Regions from separate parts of the Homo sapiens genome. Here region 2 is linked to region 1. Evidence: promoter capture Hi-C in 16 types of primary human blood cells and fetal thymus (Javierre and others, 2016). All regions are on one chromosome and are shown on one strand. Each heading gives the region's core, a stretch centred on a gene start or on the middle of the fragment in contact. The rest is flanking DNA. Distances are from core to core; before and after follow the strand shown.

The links. Contacts are between HindIII fragments. The CHiCAGO score rates a contact against its expected background, and 5 or more counts as called.
Region 2: a fragment that was not itself captured here is called in contact with the fragment with the promoter of IRF4 in region 1 in 2 of 17 cell types (total B cells and naive B cells); the score reaches 6.8 in total B cells.

What each region holds. Positions count from the first base shown.
Region 1 is chr6:388,337-393,403 of GRCh38, forward strand. IRF4 (interferon regulatory factor 4) reads left to right here and starts at 3,416. Exons shown (of 9, transcript NM_002460.4): 1 at 3,416-3,473; 2 at 4,762-5,032. The coding sequence starts at 4,817. RefSeq lists an enhancer at 1,386-1,435 and silencers at 3,103-3,492, 3,733-3,802, 4,083-4,132, 4,303-4,352, 4,463-4,572 and 1 more. The HindIII fragment of the contact is 5,232 bases long and covers 2,800-5,067 here.
Region 2 is chr6:259,592-264,734 of GRCh38, forward strand. No RefSeq gene overlaps it. Among named protein-coding and RNA genes, the nearest start is that of DUSP22, 30 kb to the right of the region's middle. The HindIII fragment of the contact is 2,512 bases long and covers 78-2,589 here.

The sequences.
Region 1 (5,067 bases), core at 2,166-4,665:
CCAGGGAAGACTTTCTTACCCACACTGACCTGACCAGAGATGAAACTCCCCCTCCTATGACAGCCTGCACTCAGAGGCTGATTCTGAAATAGTCATGCCAAATGCAGCCAATCCCTGTGTACAAGGAGAAAAAATAGTTCCTCAGAGCTGTGTCCTTGGGCCAGCCATCTGGACCTCTCACAATCTCTTTCGTTCTCCCTACACTTGGGCTGAATCCCGCCTTCCTTGCCTGCCAGGTTTGGTTTGGGGGCCAAATGAGTGAAAGTCCGTGAGATACCCCTAAGTATTGAAGTGCGTAGTAAATGATAATAGCCCTGATTTGTTGAACATGATGATGTGCCAGGCATTGCGCAAAGCATCATTTCATCATCACAACAAACACTGCTGGGAGGCAGGGACACCCCCACCCTCCTTGTACACCCAGAAGTAGGACTTTGGTTAAATGGCTCTCCCAAGGCCTCACAGCCTTAAAAACTCAAGCACTTATTTAATCCCCAATGATACTACCTTTTGGCCATGCAATGTGTCATGGCCAGTAATTAGATTTGCAAACACATATAACCAAAGAGGATTAGAAGAGACATATATTCTATATAAATTACATGAAAATAGCACTTTCAGTATTTTCCTGATTTTTTCTGGTAATTAAAAATGATTGCCCTTTATATTTCTTTATGGATACAGTTGCATTGTTTTTAGCCAATTGTAGCCCCCCCCTTTAAAGAGTGAATTAGTGGGAAAATAGTGTTATCCAAGATTTTAAGAATCTAGTGTGTGTGTTTGTGTGTGTAGGATGGGTTTTTCTGAAATATTTTACTTGCATGTGAATGTATAATTTTAAAGATTGGCTTTTAAAATACTGAATTGAGGTAAATTCAGCTTTTCTTGCAGACTCTTTACGATAAATGTGAAATTGAAAATGGAAATGCTCCATTCAGATGGTGTGCCGACTACAACCTCAACATACGGATAATTCACTAAATAAGTAACTTCCTCGTGGAATATCACGGTCAGCCTTTGTTTTGGGTACACATTCAATGAACTGGTTTCCTATTAGTTTCTGCTTGTCAACAAGTTGTGTCATTTACTGATAAATATCCAGCCTTTTACTAAGGAATACCGATTTTCTCAAGTCTCAGTGTGTGGAGGGGGTGGGAGTTTGGTGGGGAAGCTTTTCAATTTGAGAACCTTTGCCGTTTTTTGTTTCAATCGTGACTAAGATATAAAAGTCCTTGGTCACCACTGCCAGCTGCTACCTGTTCACTGCCTCCCTGACGGGTAATGAGGCCATCCGGAGTTTTAGTGATTAAAATGTTTTATTACTTGTATTCACATCATCATTAAGAAAAATAACTTCTAGTGGATCAATATGGCAAATGAGTAAACCAGAAGATGGCGTTGAAGATTAGCAATTACATTTAAAAACAAGGTAGTGGTGTGAAGGCTCAGAGTTTCACACAACGACTGTTGTTCTGAACTAAAAGCAGAGGATGTGGATGAGTGAGGGGAGGGTATGTTGAAAATGACTAAACCCGGTGCAGAGGACACGTATACGAAAGTGCAAAAAGCTCTCATTTGCCATTTTTTGTCCTCAGCAAACTCCTCTCTGGTATGTTTGTGAACGTTTGAGGGAAAGGTAACACTGATTAAAATATAATGCAACAAGAAGGCAACGATCTTTGCTTTGTTCACTGATGTGTTCCAAGTGCCTAGGACGGTTCCTGACAAGTAGCAGGTGCTCAAAATACATTTGTCAAGTGAATAAATCTGTGAAAGGAAAGGAAGAAAAACAGGTTGTGACCAGAACTTTTTGTGAACAAAACCCTGTTGTTTATTACATAGACTTTGGTAATGGAAAACTTACTTGGGTGAAATAAAAAATGGCATCCTGTTAATTTCTGAGAACGTCTGTTGGTTTTAGGAAAAGCATACCTATCCATACCTCACTACCTGTTTTGCTCTAGCCTAAACATAGATTCTTCTTTGGTTAGGAGACATTGACCCAATATATAAGATTAAAACAAAAACTGAGAAATAAGTGAAATCAAAAGCTTTTCAAAAGTTGCAGGTTGACCTACGGTGGTGGTGGTCTAAAATCATATAGAAACCAGAGATCTGATGGTTTACCTGAAAATGCGAAGTAAATGCACATACTCAGCATCTCAGACGATCGAAAGCTCAACGGGTGAAAGCTCAGGGGGTTAATTTTGCGATTAAGGACATCTTGGAAAAGTATGTAAAATCCCTGGTCCACTTAAGTATTATTCCTATTTTGGGCTTTTATTTATTTATTTTGAGATGGAGTCTTGCTCTGTCGCCCACCTCGGCTCACTGCAACTTCAGCCTCCCGGGTTCAAGCGATTCTCGTGGCTCGTCCTCTCAAGTAGCTGGGGCCACGCCCGGCTAATTTTTGTATTTTTAGTAGAGATGGGGTTTCACCGTGTTGGCCAGGCTGGTCTCGAACTCCTGACCTCAGGCGATCCACCGCCTCGGCCTCCCAAAGTGCTGGGATTACAGGCTTGAGCCACAGCGCCTGGCCTATTTTGGGCTTTTATACCCCACTGGTAAACTGCTTTCCTCCAGGTTGAGGTTAAAACGACATCATTTTAAGGTGAACTGAAGTCTGGAAGTGATTAAGCACTTGGATCCTTAGGGAGCCTCTCCCCGCCCCCATCTCTTTCATGCTAAGATAATTAAAACTTCGGGGCCGGGGCATTGTCTGAGTCACTTCAATTCACCAGCCTAATAGATGCAAAAGGATGTAAGCATGTCAGACACGCAGAGACAGTATTTGAATCAAGCTTAATAGCTCAAGGGAGCTGGGCCATTTCCTATTTTCTTTTTAGTGAGTGCGATGTTCTCTAAACACCGCGGAGAGGCAGGGTTCCCGGTGATGGCCTTGCCGAGGGTGCTCCCGCAACCTCCACCTCCAGTTCTCTTTGGACCATTCCTCCGTCTTCCGTTACACGCTCTGCAAAGCGAAGTCCCCTTCGCACCAGATTCCCGCTACTACACGCCCCCCATTTCCCGCCCTGGCCACATCGCTGCAGTTTAGTGATTGACTGGCCTCCTGAGGTCCTGGCGCAAAGGCGAGATTCGCATTTCGCACCTCGCCCTTCGCGGGAAACGGCCCCAGTGACAGTCCCCGAAGCGGCGCGCGCCCGGCTGGAGGTGCGCTCTCCGGGCGCGGCGCGCGGAGGGTCGCCAAGGGCGCGGGAACCCCACCCCGGCCGCGGCAGCCCCCAGCCTTCACGCCGGCCCTGAGGCTCGCCCGCCCGGCCGGCCCCGGCTCTCGGCTTGCAAAGTCCCTCTCCCCAGTCCAACCCCCGGCCCCCACAGGCCTCGGCGCCCCGCCCCGCCCCAGGCCCCGCCCCAGAGAGTTCTATAAAGTTCCTCTTTCCCACCTCGCACTCTCAGTTTCACCGCTCGATCTTGGGACCCACCGCTGCCCTCAGCTCCGAGTCCAGGGCGAGGTAAGGGCTGGAGTCGGGCAGGAGGAGGGGTGTGAGGCTGATACCAGAGAGGACCCGGAGCGCGAACCAGAGGTTCGACCTCCAGGGCAGCGCAGGGTACCCCGGCTTCGGAGCGGGAAGGGAGCGCGCCCCGTCCTGGAGCTCCGACTCCCACCCCATCTGCGCTGAGCCGGAGGCGCTGGTTTGGGCTCCAAGGCCCGCCTCCTTGGCTCTGCCCGAGCCTCCCCGCCTGCCCTCCGCGCTCCTGCGACGGGGTCGCCACAAGCTGGACGGGATGAGCTAACCGGACTGTCGGGGCCCCAGGAGTGGCTGAGGCGGGGCCGTCCAAGGCACCCACACAAGACGGCACAACTGCCTGCGAGAAACAGGCCCGGCCCTGTGGACCCCAATCCGAGGCTCCTTCCCCTGCTCTTCGTTCCTAAGGGGCCCAAGCTCACGGCGGCCTCCGGCGCGGTGCTCACCCGCTGGCGCAGGAGGAGGAGGAGCTCCACATTTGGGTCGCTCCGAGCCTTGCGTGCGGTGGCCTAGCCGGCCTGGCGCGGTCCCTGCCTCCCAGGCTCCGCAGCTGTCGTCGCCCTCTCCCGCGCCCTCCCCGCCTCCGCTCTCCCGGGCCTGCTCCGGGGTCCGGCGGACGCTCTGCGCGCGGAATCCCCCGTACTGGGGCTGCAGCCCCCGCGTCTGCGCCACTTGTCGTTTGCAGAGCCCACTTAGTGCGCGCTAGCTGGGCAGGGATAGGGGTCCTATTCGGGGCGAAGGGTCTGGATGCGAGCAGAGAAAGCGGAGGGTGGAGGAACCCGGGGCTGCGCCCCTGGAACGCCCGGCCGCAGGCGAGGTCCTCCGCGCGTGGAGGCCGCCAGGGGAGTGGAAACTGACAGAGTCGCGGGGAAGGGGCGAGAAGCGGGTTGGGAGTGAGCGAAGGCAAGCGAGAGCTGCGAGTGAGTGCGGAAGGAGGGCCAGGAGGGGTGGCGGCTGGGTGGGGAGAGAGGGTGCAAGACGAGCGGCGCGTGTCGGGAGCCTTTGGGCTGCGGGTGCGTTACAGGAGAGCAGGCGGGTAGGAGCCTTCGCGGGGGCCGAGCTCGGAAGGCGGACGGCTGTGCCCGCCCAGGGGATGCGCCCGGGCCGGCCGCGAAGGTGCCTTCTTCCGGGGGCCCGGACGACCCTGACACGGCACGCGCGCGCTTCGCAGCCTCAAAGACTCCGGGGCCTCGTGGTCACTGGCGCAGGGGATCGGGGCGGGGTGCCCGGAGTGCGGTGCCTCGTGGCTGAAGGGCAGCTCTTCTCCCCGCAGTGCAGAGCAGAGCGGGCGGAGGACCCCGGGCGCGGGCGCGGACGGCACGCGGGGCATGAACCTGGAGGGCGGCGGCCGAGGCGGAGAGTTCGGCATGAGCGCGGTGAGCTGCGGCAACGGGAAGCTCCGCCAGTGGCTGATCGACCAGATCGACAGCGGCAAGTACCCCGGGCTGGTGTGGGAGAACGAGGAGAAGAGCATCTTCCGCATCCCCTGGAAGCACGCGGGCAAGCAGGACTACAACCGCGAGGAGGACGCCGCGCTCTTCAAGGTCTCCGGCCTCGGGAGCCGGCGGGGGCGCGCCGG
Region 2 (5,143 bases), core at 84-2,583, 130 kb before region 1:
ACATAAATCAAGCTTGTCCAACCCATGGCCCATGGGCCACACGCAGTCCAGGATGGCTTTGAATGCGGCCCAACACAAGCTTGTAAACTTTCTTAAAACATTATGAGATTTTTTAATTTATTGGCAATTTTTTTTAGCTCATCAACTATAGTTAGTGTATTTCATGTGTGCCCCAAGACAATTCTTCTTCCAATGTGGTCTAGGGAAGCCAAAAGATTGGACACCCCTGCATAAATCAACATATTTATAAGGCACATTACAGTTACTTTGAGGATTCTCATTGAGACAGTTCCTCAAGGGACAATTATTATAAGAAGGCATAGGTGACAAATCACAAACACCAACAAAATTTACACAATGGATTTATTGACCATCTAGGCTGTGCAAGAGACACTTTCGTTTTAAGGCTTACTATATTGCAGGAAGCATATTACAACCACAAACTGAGTGCTCTTTAATGGTCAAAAATAAACCCCAAACTTACATCTTTGTTTCGTTTTAACCAGGTAGCTAAAAAGCAAAAATGAAAGTTTAGATAAATTTTTATTGTGGTAAAAGATACGTAACATAAAATATACCATTTTAACAATTTTTAAGTGTACAGTTCAGTGGCATTAATCGCATTCACATTGTAGTGCAACCATCACCACTCTCCATTGCCAGGACTTTTTTCATCTTTCTGAACTGAAACTCTAACTAATAAACAATAACTCCTCCTTCCCTCCACATTCTTGCCCCTAACAACGACCATTCTGCTTTCTGTCTGTGAATTTGCCTGACACAGGTACCTCATATAAGTGGAACTGTACAGTATTTGTCTTTTTATGACTAGTTTATTTCACTTAGCATAATGTCTTCAAGGTTCATCCATATGTAGCATGTATCAGAATTTTATTCCTTTTCAAGGCTAAATGATATTGCATTGTATGCATATACCACATTTTGTTTATCCGTTCATATACTGATGGATATGGGGTGTTTCCATCTTTTGGCTGTTGAGAATCAATCTGCAATAAACATTATCATACAAGTAGCTGAGTCCCCACTTCCAATTCTTTGGTTATATATGTAAGAATGGAATTGCTGGGTCATGTGGCAATTTTACACTTGACTTTTGAAGGAACCACACCAAACTGTTTTCCACAATGACTGCACCATTTTAAATGCCTGCTATCAATGTACAAAGGTTTCAATTTCTCTACATCCTTGTAAACATTTATTTTGTGTTTTTAAAATTATAGTCATCTTAGTAGCTGTAAAGTGGTGTCTCATTGTGGTTTTGATTGGCATTTTTATAATGATTAATAATGTTGAGATTAATGACCAATTATTTGCAAATCTTCTTTGGAGAAATGTCTATTCAGGTCCTTTCTCCTTCTTATGTATTGGGTTATATGTTTTGTATTTTTGTTGTTGAGTTCCGGGAGTTATTTATATATTCTGGATATTAATCCCATTCCAGATATATGATTTGCAAATATTTTCTCCCATTCTGTAGTTGTCTTTTACTGTCTTGATAATGTCCTTTGATATACAAATATTTTGATGAAGTCAAATTTATCTACTCTTTCTTTTGTTTCTTGTGCTTTTGGTGTCCTGAAAATCTACTACTGAACTCAAGATTATAACAGCTTATTCCTATGTTGTCTTCTAAGAGTTTTGTTTTAAGACTTTATTATTTTAGAGGAGTTTTAGGTTCACAGCAAAATTAGGTGGAAGATACAAAAATTTCCCATGTGCCTTTTATCCTACGTATGCACAGCCTCCCCCACTATCAAAATATCTCATGAGAGTGGTGCATACAATTAATGAACCTACCTTGACACACCATAATCACCCAAAGTTCGTAGTTTACCTTAGAATTCACACTTTGTGTTGTATATTCTACAGGTTTAAACAAATGTATCCATCATTGCAGTATTATACAGAATCTTTTCACTGCCCTAAAAAAATCTTCTGTGTATTCAAAGATTTTACGATCATTGATCCATGAGTTAACTTTTATATATGATGTGAGGTAAGGGTCCAACTTCATTCTCTTGCATATTGAAATCCAATTGTCTTTGCACTGTTTGTGGAAAAGACTATTACTTCCTCCCTTGAATGAACTTGGCATCTATGTCAAAAATAAATTGGCCATACTGGGCACGGTGGCTCATGCCTGTAATCCCAGCACTTTGGGAGGCTGAAGTGGGCAGATCATGAGGTCAGGAGATTGAGACCATCCTGGCTAACATGGTGAAACCCTGTCTCTACTAAAAATACAAAAAAATTAGCCAAGTGTGGTGGTGGGCGCCTGTAGTCTCAGCTACTTGGGAGGCTGAGGCAGGAGAATGGTGTGAACCCGGGAGGTGGAGCTTGCAGTGAGCTGAGATCATGCCACTGCACTCCAGCCTGGGTGACAGAGCAAGACTCCATCTCAAAAATAAATAAAATAATAAAATAAAATAAAATAAAATAAAATAAAATAAAATAAAATAAATTGGCCATAGATGTATGGGTTTATTTCTGGACTCTCATTCTATTACATTGGTTTATATGTTTATATCTAGGCCAGTACCACATTGTTTTGCTTTTTGTAACTTTGTAAGCTTTGAAATTAGGAAGTGTGACTCCTCCAAATTTGTTTTTCTTTTTAAAGATTGTTTTGACTATTCCAGGGCCCTTGCAATTGCCTATGAATTTGAGGATTGACTTTTTCATTTCTGCAGCAAAGGCTGCTGGAATTGTGAAAGCGATTTTATTGAATCTATGTATTGCTTCAGGTACTATTAACAGCTTAACAGTATTAAGTCTTCTAATCTGTGAACACAAAATGTCTTTCCATTTATTTCTTTAATTTCTTTCTTTAATTTCCTACAGCAAAGTTTTGTAGTTTTCACTGTACAATTCTTTCACCCACTTAGTTACATTTATCTCTAGGTGTTTATTCTTTTAGAAGTTGTTATAAATGGAATTGCTTTAATTTTCTTTTTTGATTGTTTATTGCTGGTATATAGGAACACAACTGAGTTTTTTGTGTTAATCTTGTAGCCTGTGATTTTGCTGGATTTGTATTCCTGTCGACTCTAGAATTTTCTATATATAGGATCATGTCCTCACAAATAGAGATAGTACTACTTTTTCCTTTTTCATTTGAATGCCTGTCCTTTCTTTTTCTTGTTTAATTTTTGTGGCTAGAACTTATAATGTTGAATAGAAGGAATGAAAGTGGGCATCCTTGTCTTGTTAGGAGGAAATCTAAAAAATCTTAAAGGAGAAAGCTTCACTATTGAGTATGCTGTTAGCTGTGGGTTTTTTATAATTGCTCTTTATCATATTTAGGCAGTTCCTTTCTATTTCCTAGTTTTCTGGGTTTAAAAAAATCATGAAAGGGGGTTGAAAATGCCTTTTCTGCATCAATTGAGATGAGCATGCATCTTTTCCCCTTGTTATATTAATTTAATTGATCTGTTACATTGATTATTTCAAAATTTTGAGCCACCTTTGCATCCTGGGGTAAATCCTACTGAGTCATGGTGTATAATTATTTTAATGTGTCATTTGATTTGGTTTGCTAGTATTTTGTTGAAGTTTTTGCATCTCTATTCATATGGGATATTGGTCTATACTTTTCTTCTGATGTCTTTTTCTAGTTTGACATCTGGGTTATGATGTCCTTATAATATGAGTTCCCATAAAAAGTATTCCCTCCTCTATTTCAAGGATGGGAGGAAGAGTTTATAGAGAATTGGTGTTAATTCTTTAAATGTTTAGTATAATTTACCAGTGAAGCCATCTGGTCTTGGACATATCTTTGTTAGGAGGTTTTGATTACTGATTCAATCTCCTGTTTTATATTTGTTGAGATTTTCTATTTCTTCATGAGTCACTTCAGGTAATTTGTGTGTTTCCAGAAATTCATCAATTTCATCTAGGTTATCTAATTTGTTGGCATACAGTTGTTCATAGTATTCTCTTATAATTTTTTATTTCTGTAAAATCTGTACTAATACCTCCACTTTCATTTCTTATTTTAGTTATATGTGTCTTCTCTCTTTTTGGTTTGCTGCTTTAGCTGAAGACTTGCCAATTTTGTGGCACTTTTTAACAAGCCAACATTTGGGTTTATTGATTCTTTTTTTTTTTTTTAAACGAAGACTCGCTCCTTCGCCAGGCTGGAGTGCAATGGCATGATCTCGGCTCACTGCAATCTCCACCTCCTGGGTTCAAGTGATTCTCCTGCCTCAGCCTCCCAAGTAGCTGGGACTACAGGTGTATGCCACCAAACGCAGCTAACTTTTATATTTTTAGTAGAGACGGGGTTTCACCATGTTGGCCAGGATGGTCTCGATCTTTTGACCTCGTGATCCACCCGCCTTGGCCTCCCAAAGTGCTGAGACTACAGGCGCAAGCCACCGCACCTGGCCTATTTTTTTCATTCTCAGCTATATTTATCTCCATTCTAATCTTTATTTCCTTCCTTCTAGCTTTACAGAAAGAAGTTTAGTTTTCTTCTTCTTTCTTTAGATCCTAAAGGTGTAAAGTTAGGTTTATTGATTTGAAATCTTTCTTCTTTTTAAAGGTAGGCATTGGCCAGGCACAGTGGCTCACACCAGTAATCCCAGCACTTTGGGAGGCTGAGGCTGGAGGATCACCTGAGGTCAGGAGTTCACGACCAGCCTGGCCAACATGGTGAAACCCCATCTCTACTAAAAATGCAAAAATTAGCTGGGCGTGGTGGCGTCCACCTGTGATCCCAGCTACTTAGGAGGCTAAGGCAGGAGAATTGCTTGAACCCAAGAGGCAGAGGTTGCAGTGAGCCGAGATCACACCTCTGCACTCCAGCCTGGGCGACAGAGTGAAACTCCGTCTCAAAACAAACAAACAAACAAATAAATAAAGGTAAGCATTTACAGCTGTAGATTTCCTTTTAAGCATTGCTTTTGTTGCATTCATAAGTTTTTGTATGTAATACTTAAGTTTTTAATCATCTCAGTGTATTTGCTAATTTCCCTTGTGATTATTTCATTGATCATTGGTTGTTTAAAAGCATGTAATTTAATGTCCACATATTTGTGACTTTTCCATTTTTCCTTCTGTTCCTGGTTTCTGTTCCTGGTTGAAGGACATACTTTGTATACTTTCTTTTAAAATTTGTTGA